Linked DNA regions of Homo sapiens: region 1 is linked to region 2. Evidence: promoter capture Hi-C in human tissues and cell types (Jung and others, 2019). All regions are on one chromosome and are shown on one strand. The core of a region is centred on a gene start or on the middle of the fragment in contact, and the rest is flanking DNA. Distances in the headings are between cores, read along the strand shown.

Evidence for each region. The method cuts DNA at HindIII sites, captures the fragments that hold promoters and counts their contacts. A contact is called where the count stands out against the background at its distance.
Region 1: a contact is called between the fragment with the promoter of IQCF1 here and the fragment with the promoter of ALAS1 in region 2, in 1 of the 25 tissues and cell types used here (adrenal gland).

What each region holds. Positions count from the first base shown.
Region 1 is chr3:51,902,045-51,904,977 of GRCh38, reverse strand. It overlaps IQCF1 (IQ motif containing F1), which reads left to right and starts at 1,625. Exons shown (of 4, transcript NM_152397.3): 1 at 1,625-1,708; 2 at 1,889-1,993. The coding sequence starts at 1,706. RefSeq lists an enhancer at 1,868-2,933. The HindIII fragment of the contact is 7,615 bases long and covers 1-2,933 here.
Region 2 is chr3:52,196,618-52,199,409 of GRCh38, reverse strand. It overlaps ALAS1 (5'-aminolevulinate synthase 1), which reads right to left and starts at 1,250. Exons shown (of 12, transcript NM_000688.6): 1 at 1,155-1,250; 2 at 562-738; 3 at 1-200. The coding sequence starts at 168. RefSeq lists silencers at 1,009-1,088, 1,199-1,268 and enhancers at 1,409-1,628, 1,639-1,708. The HindIII fragment of the contact is 15,330 bases long and covers 1-2,792 here.

The DNA of each region.
Region 1 (2,933 bases), core at 376-2,875, 290 kb after region 2:
CCACCACACTTGGCTAATTTTTTGTATTTTTAGTAGAGACGGGGTTTCACCGTGTTAGCCAGGATGGTCTTGATCTCCTGACCTCATGATCCTCCCGCCTCAGCCTCCCAAAGTTCTAGGATTACAGGCATGAGCCACTGCACCCAGCCCAAACTCCCATTTTTAAAACCATCAAATCTCTTGAGATTCATTCACTATCATGAGAACAGCACAGGAAAGACCTGCCCCCATAATTCAGTCACCTCCCACCAGGTTCCTTCCACAACACATGGGAATTGCGGGAGTTAAAATTCAAGATGAGATTTGGGTGGGGACACAGAGCCAAACTATATCACACCCACAACTTCCCACATCTTTCAATGTATTCCCATATTCTCCACCCCCTCATCCCATTAACTTCACATCCCAGCCTCAAATGGCCTCCTCCTCTTCCCTACATTCCCCCTACAGATCCACATTGGCCTCTCCCATACTCACCCTATACATTTCAAGTGCACTTCTCAGTGACCCCAGGGGCTGTGCCTCTCATGGCCTTACCCTGTCCAGCTGGGTCTTCAGAGGCCGAGATCAGGCAGAAAGGGGCCATGCTTGTGCAGTGGCCACCTTCATCCATCTGATTGTGGCCTTGAGACCCCAGGGACAGAGGAAGACAGGAGAGCACTTGGACCCATTTGAGCCTCAGATGGAGTCCAGGCTGGTCCTCAGGCCCTCATGGGGTTCCTTGGGGACTGTGTTAGGCATGAGTCAGCAATTTAACTCTCCTCTCCAAAGGTAATCATTGGTAATAGTTTGGTATATATACCTTTTTTCTTCTTTATATTCATTTACAACATATAATGTGTATCATGTAATAACTTCTGGCATAAATTATTCAATTTTATGTGTATAATTATGTTCCTAGTTTTGTTTGCATAGTGGGATCAAAAGGAACTTTAGTTTTTTACTTATAAATACATCTTTATATATTTCCTCATTAGTAATATAGATCAAATTCTTATTTTTAATAGTTATGTAGTATTTTATAGTATGAATGAACTATGCATCATTAAATTAATCCCCTATTGATTATTTAAGTTGGCTATATAAGTTTTTTCTTTTCTTTTTTTTTTTTTTTTGAGATGGAGTCTTGCTCTCTTGCCCAGCCTGGAGTGCAGTGGCATGATCCTGGCTCACTGCAAACTCCACCTCCTGGGTGCAAGCGATTCTCCTGTCTCAGCCTCCTGAGTAGCTGGGATTACAGGTGACAGCCACCACACCCAGCTAATTTTTGTAATTTTAGTAGGGACAAGGTTTTGCCATGTTGGCCAGGCTGGTCTCGAACTCCTGACCTCAGTTGATCTGCCTGCCTCGGCCTCCCAAAGTGCTGGGATTACAGGCCTGAGCCACTGCGCCTGGCCAAGTTTTTTCAATTAAATGTTATTAGAAATGACTGGCTTTTTATAAACCTTACAGCAATGGGCCAGTATTTCTGGCATCTTGCCTTTGAAGTCAGGGCTTTGGCCATTTCTGGCAGAAAAGAATGGGCAGCGCTTTTGTCTTTCCCTTGGAGGGGGCTCACTTGTTAGGAGCCATCTGGTGCCTGAGTCACAGGTGCCCTTATGACATCACAGGCCTTTCTTCCTCCACCCTTCCTGCCTATGCTATGGCTGGATGAACACAGATGTGAGGGGATTTGAACCATCTACAATCAATCCATATGTGACCAATGGTAAGAGAAAGCCAGACACACCAGGCTTGTTAGGGATGTCCCCATAGATCTCTCAGGGTGAAGGGACCCCCTGACACTGAAGACTCTAAGAAGCCCTGGAAGCTGGGGATGTGTGCCATATTGAATGGAGAGGGAGGGACCGCAGCCTCACTCTTGCCTTTCCCCTAATGCTGATTGCAGGAGGAGAAGCAGCCCCAAAAGACGAAGGAACCCTCAAAAGAAGATGAGCCTCAGCAGAAGGAGATGCCAACCCATTTGTCCTTAGGAGCAGAGTCAAAGGCAGAGGTAGGAGGAGCCCTGACTTGGATGTCATTGATCCCATGTCCTAGTGCTAGTAGCTAGTGTCTTTTGCATGGTGCTGTTATAAGTGAAGTTTCTGTGCCGCAAAAGAAATAGCACTCAAATATAAAATTTTCTTTTTAATTCTCAGCAAGGCAAGGTACTTCTATAGAAGGGTGCGCCCTTACAGATGGAGCAATGGTGAGTGCACACTTGGACAAGGGAGGGGAAGGGGTTCTTATCCCTGATGCACGTGGCCCCTGCTGCTGTGTCATTCCCCTATTGGCTAGGGTTAGACCACACAGGCTAAACTAATTCTGATTGGCTAATTTAAAGAGAGTGATGGGGTGAGTGGTTTGGTGGGAAAAATGGTTACCGCGGAGCAGGAAATCGGAATGAGTCAGGGTGGAGACTGAGCAGGTAATTGGAATGAGTCAGGGTGGAGCCGGTAATCGGAATGAGTCAGGGGGGAGTAGGTAATCAGAATGAGTCAGGGCGGAGCAGGTAATTGAAAAAGGTTGCTTTACAAGGAAGTTAAGTTTAAAAGTAGAAGGCAAAGAATTGAACATATTGACATACTGATTCTTTGAAGAGAAATTTAGAACTCATACCTAACAACTTCTCCTCTTGCATTTCCTTACAGCTCTTTCTCTTTAAACTTCTTTAACATGTCTTGGCTTAGATGTTCTGCTTGATTTTCCAAAAGAAGAAGCTTCTCTGGATAAGGTGGAGAATAGTTAAGGGAGGTTTTAGTAAGTGCTGTTTTTATGAGCCTCTTTGCACCAACCCACGGACGCATGGTGTGACACAGCACCCAACAAGAATAAATACACCCATTGCGGCTGCCAGGGAAGTGAGAATTGAGGCTATAATTCTTTTCCATTTACTGAACCACTTTTCTAGCCATCCTGTAAAGGGCTCATTTAACCCTGAGTTGTTGGCTAAC
Region 2 (2,792 bases), core at 1-2,500:
TTGGTAGTGTACTGCTGCAGTGGACAATGCCCGAGGGGCTGGCTTGGCCCCAACTTCCATCATCTTGGGGCAGTTTTGGGCATAGAACAACAGAGATTTGCCTGCTTTCTGCAGAAAGGCCTGGGGGACTCGGGATAAGAATGGGCAGCGGCGAACAACACTCTCCATGTTCAGGAAGTATGCTGGCTCCTGTGGAAAGACTGATGAAGAGTGACATCAACAGTTGTTAATAATCAGGCAAATATCACTGCAAGCTCACTGGATTCAGGTGTCAACCGCAGTTTATATAAAGGGTACCCTGGAATACTAACACTTCTCCCTCAAAAATGCCTAAGGACAGCACTGATGTGAGCTAAGGAATGGTGACCACACTTTACCCGGGTCACCAACTTCTTCATTCTCCAGCGCTACACAAAGGCACCTGCAAAGCAACTTCACCAAATGAATACTGACAGTACATAATCAAGGGGGCGGAAGGATGAGGGAAAGGTCAAGAACAGGTTTGGGAGGCCAGAGGTTTCTTAGGGAGATGCACAGTGCAGATAAGACATCTTGGCTTACATCTAGGTGGAGAAGAAGCCACTCATCCATCCAGGCAGGGAAGACTCTTAGGGATCCTGACTTTCTCCTGGTCCCCACATCCCCTAAACCCGAGGAAGGGGTCCAGCAGGGTCCCGAGTCCCTGAAGCAAGGATTCCTCCGTGGTCGTGTCCCCACAGCGGGAAGAACTGGGCATAACTGAGAAAGGAGGGGCACAAATGAGGGTAGGGGTATGAGGGCCAGCGCCTTGGGCCTCACTGGGGACGCGCAGGGGCTTATAAAGTCGAGGGAGTTGAGTCTGGAGAAAGAAGGCAGTCCTCCGGCAGTGGGGGTCAGAGGTGACCCGCGGTCGAGGTCTCGAGAATGACGGGAGGGGTATGAGAAGGGAATTCTAAAGCGGCGGGTTCAACCGGGAATAGCCGGAAGGGGCCGAAAGGGGGAAACTGAGGCGGCCGTCTAGGCAAAAGATCTGGAGGATAAACGCTGACCTCAAGGCGGCGGGTGACTGGGACAGTGGGGGATGGGGTCCCAGCACCCGGGGCAGCGGTGCCACGGCTGGCAGGACACCCCGGGGCTTCCTCGGCCGGCGCCGCACCTACCGCGCGGGCCCTCACCTGCGCTGAGGACTGCAGAGGCGGCGGCGAAGGAGGCGGGCACTCAAGTCGAGAAGTCCAAACGAAACGCTCGTTGCCCTTGTCCGGGAGCAGCCTCAGGCCGCGATCGCCGGCGCCTTAATATACAGCGGGAGTGACCGCTGCGCATGCGCCTTGGGCGCTGCCTTCTTCTGCGCAGGCGCGCCGCGTAGCCCTCGGCGAGCCGGGGGGGCGGGGCAGAGAGGCCCACTTCTTGGGCTCTGCGGATATCGGTGCTGCCGGGGATTCCCCGGCTCGCCTGCAGGGAGGAGGAAGCGCTAGGCGGTGGGCGGACGAGGTCTCTTTTCCCGACCTCATCCTGCACCCTCGTGCTGCCTCCCCACCAACTACCCTGGGCTTCAGAACCCTACGCCCCAATTGAGTATAAAATGGCAAGGTCGAGGCGAGGTGCCGCTAGGGCCAAGTTGGGGGCTACAGGGTTGTTAAGCTGGGTGTCTTGGACATGGAGGAAGAAGGAGATCCAAGGGGTTCTGGGCCGGGGTGTTAAGCAGGATCCATCCCGCCTGCGGCTTGCTTTGGAAACTGTGAACAAGGGCTTCCCGGAGGAGGTGGAGCTGGCTATATCGCCCACAAATGGAGTGGTCCTGGCAGGATGCGGAAGAAGCGGGACACTCAGCTGTGGCACTTTCTGGTCTAAGATGATCCAGAGGGGACAGAGGAACAGGGCTAGGGTGGAACCCATCCACTCCACAGCTCTGAGCACTTGGGGAGGAGGGGAAGGCACAGGGCCTGACAATAGTTAGCGTGTAACAAATATTAGCCACTATTTTTATTTTCCATCCAGGGTTGTCTGAAGCCCCTTGCTGGCCACCCTGGGCACCAGCAGGGTGGCTTAGGCCTCCATGCCAAAGGTCAGCGTTGGGCCATACCTCCATTGAGTTTCCCGGGTACAACACATAAAGTGTAGGGCTTGGCAAACCCGTCTCAGGAATGTCAGTCTGGCTTCCTTGCCCCACACCCTTCCCAGCTTGGCTTGGGCTGTGTTGGGCTGGGCCTGTGCCAGGCTCAGAGGTACTCTCCTCCATTCTTGAGGAAAGGGCCTTTGAGGGTATTCCTTTCCCAGCTGAGCATTAACAAGAGGGACAAAGTCCAGAATGATGGTGACCAGGGTGTGTCCAGGTACTTTGCATTTCTGTCTCTGAGCACCCAGCTGGCTGCAAGGCAGGTGAGGTGAGTCTCCACCTTCAGAGGAGGCACCTGGGTTCAGAGTGGCAGTGGGACCAGTCCAGGATGAGGGCTTTGGTCTGAGAGCTCGAGACCCAGTTCTGTGCCATTCAGCCAAGAGATCCTGGGCAGTGCCCATCACCCAGAGAAGATGAGAGAGAAAAGGTCAGCACTTGGACTTGGACCCAAGTGCAGCTGGAAGTGGGAACAGAATAAGGATGATATTGAGTGCTTTGCTCATCTTTGGGCCTTGCTTTCCTTATCTGGGCAATAGGATCATAATCCCTGAAATGCCTGCCTCACAGGTTGTTTTTGTTGTTGTTGTTATTTTGTTTGTTTGTTTGAGACAGAGTCTCCCTCTGTTGCCCAGGCCGGAGTGCAGTGGCACAATCTCGGCTCACTGCAACCTCTGCCTCCCAGGTTCAAGCGATTCTT